2 separate regions of the Homo sapiens genome follow, and region 1 is linked to region 2. The links are contacts of gene promoters, found by promoter capture Hi-C in human tissues and cell types (Jung and others, 2019). All regions are on one chromosome and are shown on one strand. Each heading gives the region's core, a stretch centred on a gene start or on the middle of the fragment in contact. The rest is flanking DNA. Distances are from core to core; before and after follow the strand shown. Region 1 has its middle 5.1 kb from the start of RNF20. Region 2 holds the start of ALDOB (aldolase, fructose-bisphosphate B).

Region 1 (4,938 bases), core at 932-3,431, 93 kb after region 2:
GGAATAGTCTTCAAGGTTAACTGAATATTTGAAATGTCAATGTAATGTCAAAATTTGCTGCATGGTTTGGACATAGTCCATTAAAAGTATCTTTCTCCCTGTACTATTGAAATCTCTATTACCCTGGCATCCAGTACTTTTATTTTTTTAAATTTATTTTTATTATTTATTTTTGGGATGGCGTCTGACTCTCTCGCCCAGGCTGGAGAGCAGTGGCATGATCTTGGATCACTGCAACCTCTGCCTCCTGGGTTCAAGTGATTCTCCTGCCTCAGCCTCCCAAGTAGCTGAGACTACAGGTATGCGCCACCATGCCTGGCTAATTTTGTGTATTTAGTAGAGATGGGGTTTCACCATGTTGGCCAGGCTGCTCTTGAACTCCTGACGTCAGGTGATCCACCCACCTTGACCTTCCCAACTCCTGGAATTACAGGCATGAGCCACTGCGCCTGGCCCCAGTTACTTTCAAAACCTTATTCAAGTACATGATGCAAATGAATCCAGCTTCTAGGGTGGTTCATAAATTGTAATTTCAAGGTTTAGTTCAATAAGTGAAGCATAATGACTTATTCCATTTTTCCAAAGTAAATGGTACCAACCAGAACTATGCTTGGGAGGAAGAACAGGGAAGGGATATCAGGAAATCCTGAACTTCCTTCCACCTCTTCCAAATTAACTCATGTGTCTCCTGTTTTATAAATGCCTTTGGGAGGAGATACTACCATCATCCTGCAATAAAGATGAAGCTTGAATTCACTATATATCAGCATGTGCATATTTAAGATCAGTGTTTCCTGAAGTTGTGACAGTGAGAAGAGAGAGTCGGCTGAGTGCTACAAGTATCACAGGGTTGACGAGGATGGCAGCCCCACCTGGAAGGGCTTTATAAGCGCTGAGATTCTGGAGGCAGTCTCTTGAGAATTCATAACTCTCTAGGTAACTGCATTAGTCATCAATGTAATCAGCCTTTTTCTTTCTTCTGAGTCAGGAAAGGGGTGCTGATGAGGCAAGATTCCGAACATTTGTGGATTCCTGGCCGTATACTACTGCTGTAAGACCTCCTTTTAACTGAATTTGGCCATATGCCTTTGGGCACCAGAAATTCATATCTTAATACATGTCGTTGTTGGAGTCAATACATGTTTAAACTGATATACTATATCAGTTATATTTATATCAATTCTCCCTTATTGATCCTAGAATAATTTAAAAGAAAATGAAAAGACTAGACATAATTATGGCCACACAAGACAGTAGCTACACAATTAAGTAATAAATGTTTTACAAACTTAAGTAATATATGGACCCCTCTTTCAAAGGAAAACAATTTTCTCATGGGCCACTTAATGTTTACTTAAAATATTTTAATTGTAATGTTAAAATGTATAAATATAAACTTGGTATGCATGCCTTATGCTTATACAGCTTACAAACAAAAATATACTTACAAATTAAATATAAACAAGGCTACAGAGCCAAATAAGCTTAAAGTTAACAACATTTATTTAATGTGAGACACTTGATGTTGTTTTGCTAATATTAAGGCCCTCCTTGCTGTGTGTATACAGCATGACATGGATTCTTTAGAATTTAGTGATCCATCTCATCATCTTGACTGCCCATTGGGAAAGACGCTCAATCTCTACCCATGTGGATTTTCTTGGAATTCCTGTAAGCTCCAAGGGTAAGTTAGGGTGTGCCTGGGTGTGCCTAATTAGGTACTGTTGCCCCAAAATCTGTACTCAGATTTGTACTAAATAAGCACAATTACCCAGGGTCAGGAAAAGATTTATTGCATTTTTTAAGTTTTAAAAGTAAAAATGAGATCATAGGCACTGCCCATGGCCTCTTTGTGCCCTTCTTTTATTTTTCCACATTTCTGGAAATTCTTTTTAAGTGCCTTCTAGAATTCTGTACCAGTCAGCAAAAATATTTATACCAAAGTTTGAGACAGGCAATTTTCTTTCAGTTGGAAGTAGTTGTTTCCACCTTGCTTGTATGGGGAGGGGTCTCTAATATGCACCCAATCATAATAGTCCCTGGGCTTTGTCTCCTGTTCTGCTTGCCTACCAAGGCCATGAAAACCTAAATTCTCCTTTACCTAGTTTGACAAATGCCCTCAGCTGAAATCCAGTTTTAGTCCTCAGCTTGCTTTCTGAATGATGGTCATGCCATGCTTCTGGAAATGGAAATTCCAAATCTTACCTTTGTAATTACATGCTGTACCCCCATCCCCAACGCCTGATGCAAGCATTTCAGTGATGCTGTTCTTTCTCCTCCAAGGCCAGGTGGGTTTCTAGTTGCACAGTAACAGTAATATGGAAGAGTAGACCTACCCAGTGAAAATTCACAAAGACAACCTGGCTTCTGCTTTCCAAACACAAAAGCATCATAGAAATACAAATGATAAAAATGTTAGAAACCCAAACATAGACTGTCACATGGCTGGGCATAGGGACATAAAAGACCAATTGTATGATTGTAACATAGACACTTCTTAGTTTTTTTTTTTTTTTTTAAGTTCAGAGGCACATGTGCAGTTTGTTACATAGGTAATTTTGTCATGGGGGTTTGTTGTACAGATTATTTGATCATCCAGATATTAAGCCTAGTTCTCGTTAGTTGTTTTTCCTGATCCTCTCCCTCCTCCCACCCTTCACTAGGCCCTGGTTTGTGTTGCTCCTCTCTCTCTCTCTCTGTGTCCATGTGTTCTCATCACTTAGCTCCTACTTATAAGTGAGTACGTGCGGTTGTCTGTTCCTGTGTTAGTTTGCTAAGGATAATGGCCTTCAGCTGCATCCATGTCCCTGCAAATGACATGATGTCATTCTTTTTTTATAGCTGCATGGTGTCTCTCGGCTTTTTTTTTTTTTTTTCTTGAAATGGAGTTTCACTCTTTTTGCCCAGGCTGGAGTGCAATGGTGTGATCTCGGCTCACTGCAACCTTTGCCTCCTGGGTTCAAGTGATTCTCCTGCCTCAGCCTCCCGAGTAGCTGGAATTACAGGCGACCACCACCATGCCCAGCTAATTTTGTATTTTTAGTAGGGACAGGGTTTCACCATGTTGGCCAGGCTGGTCTTGAACTCCTGACATCAGGTGATCCGCCCGCCTTGGCCTCCCAAAGTGCTGGGATTACAGGCATAAGCCACCGCGCCCGGCCTTCTCTCAGCTTTTTAAGAGAGCATTAAACTAAATGGGGCTCCTCTGACAATTTGTGACTACCAATTAGCTCTCACGTTTCCATAGACTGTTAGGACACCTTGTCCTCACTCTTTAAAAAAGGCAGACCTGGCTCTAGCTCCCCTGAGTAAGCCACCTCCCTGGTCCCCAGAAATTACAAAGTAAGAGGGCTGAGTATGATGTAGTATAGTGGGCCAGGTGATCTGGGGAGAAGGAGGCAGGGGTATGGAAATGAAGGAGAAAGGTGTGGCGAGGGTGAATGGTAGGAGAAGGGAAAGGTGAGGACAAGAGGAGGGGGCTCGTTTTTGTAGGACACTCCCAGGTGGACCTGGACATCATTACCTAGAGCAGTGTTCCTTAAATGTGCCCAGATAGGAAGCATAATTACAAAAGTAAGAACTTGCATTTTCAGAGAGCTTTCCCCCGGAAATTCTGATTCAGCAAGTCTAGAGCAAGGGCTATGGTATCTAAATGTTTCTGTTTAACGAGTGATACCATGCTAAGTAAAATACAACTTGTTTAAAATAAGGGAGTTCCTGAATTATGTCTGGCATACAATCCAATCCAGATTTCATGGAATATTGGAATGCCTGGAGATATAACAATCTTAGAACAAAACATTTGTAAAGCAGTGTAGAAAAAAACAATAAACAAAAATCCAAAATATCTTAATTTTGTCCATTTTGAGAGCATTAAGCCTACCCTCAGTAGTTGTCCAAGTTTCTAAGAGTTAGGGTGAAGACAGGACATGACTGATGCGCAGTACTGTGCAACCAAAGCTTTAGAAAGGGAACTGGGTAAAGAGGCGTGTCGCCTTATGCCACCTTGTGGCAGAATTGGGTAGTTAATGAAGACCGGCTGGAGGTCGAATGACTTGGGTCCTTCAACAAATACTCATTAAGTCATCATTTGAAAAAAAAAATCACTTAAAATCTGAGTCTGTTTTCTCCTTTTAAAAAAGATTACTATTTGCTTAAATTATGTTTTTGATACAAGCAATGAGACTTTAAAAGTGAAATAAAATATTAAGTATTCTTTTTATCATTGCTAATGCTGTTTTCCCATTTATAAGTGAGGGAAAAACTTATTTTTCCAGGGATATTCCTTTTTCTCTTGATTAAGATGGTGAACAGAAGGTGGCTGGTCAGAAATGAATGGGGAATGCATTCAATGAGAGAGATCTCTGCCATCCTCCTCTTCATCTATTCTATTTTCCCAATTCGCTAGAGTGAGACAGGCTACTTTGAAGATGTCAGATGGCTGACTGAGGTGCTCAGAAAAGACAGATCTCACCAGTAGCTGCAGAATATGGTTACCTACTATGATGGTTAATTTTATGTGTCAATTTCGCTGGGCCACTGTGCCCAAATAGTTGGTGAAACATTATTCTGGATGATTCTGTGAAGGTGTTTTTGTTTGTTTGTTTGTTTGTTTGTTTTTTTGGATGAGATTAATATTTAAATTGGTAGACTAAAGCAGATTACCCTCCAAAATGTAGGTAGGCCTCATCCAATCAGTTGAGAGCCTTAATAGAACAAAGACTAACCTCCCCTGAGCAAGAATGAATTCTGCCAGCAGACTGCCTTTAGACTTAAACTGCAAATCTTTCCTGGGGCTCCAGGTTGCAAACCTGCCTTGTAGATTTTGGTTTATCCAGCCACCACAATCCTGTGAACCAATTCCTTATAATGTCCCTCTCTCTCTTTCTCAAATCTCTTTCTACACACACACACACACACACACACACACACACACAC
Region 2 (4,835 bases), core at 989-3,488:
AGATCTCAAGCCAACTTTTTTCAGTGTGATGGAAGTTGTTCACATTATATTATTAAATGAAAAACAAGTTTCAGAGAAGTATGCAATATATACTGTCCTCCTATTTTTTAATTAAAAAATGATATATACCCATACTGTTTTTGTGTCTATATAAACAAAGAGTAACAACTCTGGAGTTACCTCTGAAGAATGGGGTAGGGTGGAGAGATTCTCACATTTCTTTTCTTTTTCTTTCTTTCTTTTTTATTTTCTGAGACAGAGTCTTGCTCTGTTGCCTAGCCTGGAGTGCACTGGCACAATCATGACTCACTGAAGCCTCGTCCTCCTGGGCTCAAGTGATCTTCCCACCTCAGACACCAAGCAGCTGAAACTACAGGCGCCTGCCACCATGCCCAGCTATTTTTTTTTTTATTTTTGGTATAAACAAAGTCTTGCTATGTTGCCCAGGCTTGTCTTGAACTCCTGAGTTCACGCGATCCTCCCACCTTGGCCTCGCAAAGTGCTGGGATTACAGGCATGAGCCACTGCACCCGGCCACATTTCATTTTATACATTCTTTATCACGCACTTTATTACATATGTGTAACAAGTAATATGTATATAAATCTGGAGGAAAGTTGTATTAACAACAGAAGGTAACCACAGAAAAACAGAGCTACAAATGACCTCAGAGATACCTGCGTCAACCCTGTCACTTTAGAGATGAGGAAACTAAAGCCAGAGAGACTATGTCTGATGTGCCTTCTAAGTTGTGATGTTCTAGGATTGCAAGTTACATCCTATTGGCTTATGACTTAGAATTCTATTTCTAATCCTTCAGCAAAATAGCAGGTAGAATCCTATGGTATGGTTCTTTCTGCCTTCCTTGAAGATGTTCTGTGAAAACATAATTATTTGTAACATGGATATTTAATTCCTGGAGAAATAGAAGGCAGCAGAAAGTTCATTTGCTTCTCTATGTACAAGACAAATGGATTTTTAAGGCAAATATGAGGAGGCTTATTTATTGATAGCCCATGATTTCTAGGCACTGCATGCAGCACTTTTGTACATGATGCTTAAAGCTGCCAATAGCTTCATTATCCACCCCAATGTCCCAGTGACAAGTGCAGTGGGATGATCTAGGGCAGTCCTAGGACAGCCTGATTTCCAGTGCCCTTTAACACACGCGGAGCAGCCCAGAACGAGTCCTGAATGGTGCTCTTTCCTCTAAACTTGGAATGAAGCCAAAGGACCTCTTAGATATTCAACATTTCCCCATTCCCTGCCCCAGTATCTCTGGCTCTAACCTGGGCCTGGGTGCTACCCAGATGTGCCTTAGCTAAAGTGATGAATAGCAGGGTAGCAGAGTTCAAGCTCTGGTGCATCCAAATTGTCTAATGGAGCCCTAGGTAACTATTTAAAGAGAAGTTATTTTTTAAAAAGGCAACATATTCTCACAATGCCTATTTTTCAGATAGTAGAGCAAATGTATCAAAATACACAACCTTTTGATTCCTACTATCTTAAGCTGTAGGGTCTTCACAGTGTCTGGGGCCAGCAGGAAATGTTCTAGAAAGTGTCAAACATGAAGGGTTTGGAAATTCATAATCAAATGATGACTATGCTCTGTGAAGTTTCCAACCCTGTTGCATTTCCTCATTTGAGCAGTGGGTGAAGGCGAAGGGCAAAATACTCCAAGGGTTTGTTTCTGTGACAAAGAAACTTCAGTGTCGGTACCAGTAGGTGTGGGAAGAGAATGTAGAAAATGACATAAGGCAGTAGATATGTAAATAAATCACTAAAATAAGTAGTTGTTATGAAAAGAGAGTTGAGAGTTGAAATGAACAGGAATCTCAAAAACTGATTAGAACCTAACGATAGGAGTGTTCAAGTTGTTTTTCCTAGATCAGAGACTCACAAGGGCCTCATTCAGGTAACACAAGTAACTGGCAATCAATCTTGGGCATTTTGCCACCTCTCAAAAAGTCAGGAAAGGTGTGAATGAGCATTTATACTTAGAGAGAGGAAAACAAGCATTTCCCTCCAAGCAGAGCCATCATGTTTTCAGCCACCATCAAGTTTTTCCCGAAAACAAAGGCAAACCAATCTTCCCTTCTATAAGCTTAGTAGTATTATTAACCCCTTATTCACTGGTGCTGTCCAGGTATACAAAGGAAGCTTTTTTACTTACAGTTTGGGAGAGAAGAGTCCTCCTAGATATCAAAAGCTGTGGGTGAGGCAGCAGCTGCCAAATAAGACAGATCTTTGGTAGCACACAATTTTTATAGACTTCTCATCATGTTTTTTTTTTCCAATATTTGCCCTCCCCTTTCTACCTTGACCTAGTAGGGAGGTGTTTATTCAACACCTCTGATTGGCTCATAAACAACCAGTCCTTAAAATCATGCCCATATACTCCTTATGCTCATAGAATGTTAAAGCTGCAAGGAATGTCTTTAGACCGTGGAGTTCCTAATCCAGACCCTCCATTTCACAGATGAGGAAACTAAGGCAAGGAAGATAAGGAGGTTCCCTTAAGTCATACAGCTAGTCAATGATGGAGCTCTAGGGTCCATTAAATGATACTAGGAAGAATGTTAGTGTAGCTGTAACACTTACAAAACACATGAACTTGGTGACGGGTTTTTGGTTTTGTTTTTTACTTGTCTGAGCCGTTATTTTCTTCTCTGTAAAGTGGGATCTCAATTTCACAGGAGCATTAAGTGAGTTGTATAGTGTCTGTACGCAGTAGGCATTCAAGAATTATTATTTCCAAATTAGGTAATCAATGCTATATTTTCATTATTTATCTTCAGTATATCATTAGTAGTCAATTCCAACAATTTATTCTATAATTTATAGTTAAATTTAAATAATCTTTCAATAAAAGAAATTGATTCTGAATCCTTGAATTTCCCATGTGTGAATTTTGTCCAAATTGGAAATAAAATTCAAAACATTCTGTTTTTAAAAATCATTGTCTCTCCCATCTTCTCCAGTCCTCCAAAACCTAGCTGGGCTTTCTGATGTATTTAATGCCAGAAATCATTGTTTTGTATTCCCATTCTCTTTTAACCTTTGTACTTTTGTCTTCAAATTTGGTTAAAAACTAGAATTAAAGTGATTGAACTAAGCCATCAACACCCCTAAATATGGTACTGTCTGGGTATGGGTTCATTCTGCAGGGCTTTTTCCTAAGTATGAAACCCAAATTTAATTCCAGAAAAGGTAAATAAAAATATTATATGCTTCCAGAGGCAAATGATGAATGAGGCAAATAAATGAGGGAAATCTAAAAGTGATGGAATGACCGTAATTACAAAAAAGGGTAAATTCTCATGAACATGTTCCTCTGGAATAATTCATAAAATGGAAAACAAAACTAAGATGCTTGATTGTGCAGAGTGTAACACCAGAATTTATGGATGAAAAGGTGAAATGTCAACAAAATGAAGGAAAAAATAAACGGAACTAGGTGATCTAAAAAGAGTTTTGGTTTAGTTTTGGTTGTTTTTCCTAGATCAGAGACTCACAAGGGCCTCATTCAGGTAACACAAGTAACTGGCAATCAATCTTGGGCATTTTGCCACCTCTCAAAAAGCCAGGAAAGGTGTGAATGAGCATTTATACTTAGAGAGAGGAAAACAAGCATTTCCCTCCAAGCAGAGCCATCATGTTTTCAGCCACCATCAAGTTTTTCCTGAAAACAAAGGCTTCTGAGAACAGTAAGTATTCATCACTGAATGTGAATATTGAAGGAAATTGAAGTATTTGAAACACAATATTGAGGCTCATTTGGCTAGGGAAGTTCCCACCAAGCCCTGTCCTGAGGATAGTAGAGGGATAGACCAGGGAAAGGTCCTATCAGCTCCCTTGACTCCACTTAGTATCTGATGGCACATTTCCTGGTTTCCCCATCTTCAACTGGGCTCATTGAAGCACCTGCTACCATATTTGTCAGACCAATGTGACCAGCTTTGGGGCTATGTGAGGTTTCATCCTCTATGATTTTTGGTAAAGGAGAATGGAGGAACAAGAGGTGGATGGTGATGAAAGAATAGAGAGTGGGTGTAATGAAAGTTGTTAGGAGTCAGGGCTGGGGTAGTCAGAACCATAGCTAAAACATTCTACCTGCTGAGAGATGCTACTAGTACTAATTATTCTTGTTATACAACAATAATAGCTATCCTTTTTTTGAGAGTCTATGATGTACCTGGTTCTTTTCATAAATTATCTCCAATATCAGCGACTCTCTGAAGAAACGCTTATTACCCCCATTTTATGCATAACAAAACTCTGGTTCAGAGAGGGCAAGTAACTTGTCTAGAGTCACAGTACAGGTAGCTGGAGAGTTTGTCTCATTCCAAGACAGTGATCTAAAGCAGAGCTGCTTACATTTTGGTAACTGCAGACTCATAAATTAGCTCTTTCCCTATTGCCTTCTCAGCAGTTTATAACCTTGGACATTAAACTTTCATTAATCAGGGAGGAATGACTTGCGTCAGCAGACGTAGGTGTCCTTGGTGAGCTGGGCATGGCTCCATGTGAACAACAGCCTGGCTAGGAATGTCAGAACAGCATGAGTACTCCTGCCCTGAGTGCTGCCACTTGCTGCTGTTCTTGTAGCATCAGCATTTGCCCACCTCTGGGGCTTGATGTGCAACTGAAACTCAAAGTTCAGGAAAACAAAGCTAAGGGCTTACTGGACCTTAGAGAAACAGCAACTCTTGACCAACATACACTGCTTGCAGGGTTTTTGTTTTTATTTTTATTTTTGTTAAGTCTCCTAACACAATACAATGTTCAAAATTGAGTATTATATGTGGAAACAGCATTGGACTTGGAGGCTGTGA

Evidence for each region. The method cuts DNA at HindIII sites, captures the fragments that hold promoters and counts their contacts. A contact is called where the count stands out against the background at its distance.
Region 1: a fragment that was not itself captured here is called in contact with the fragment with the promoter of ALDOB in region 2 in 2 of the 25 tissues and cell types used here (H1 embryonic stem cells and adrenal gland).

The regions. Positions count from the first base shown.
Region 1 is chr9:101,526,294-101,531,231 of GRCh38, forward strand. It overlaps a transcript of PGAP4 not described here. Among named protein-coding and RNA genes, the nearest start is that of RNF20, 5.1 kb to the right of the region's middle. The HindIII fragment of the contact is 6,605 bases long and covers 1-4,938 here.
Region 2 is chr9:101,433,536-101,438,370 of GRCh38, forward strand. It overlaps ALDOB (aldolase, fructose-bisphosphate B), which reads right to left and starts at 2,239. Exons shown (of 9, transcript NM_000035.4): 1 at 2,174-2,239. The HindIII fragment of the contact is 17,042 bases long and covers 1-4,835 here.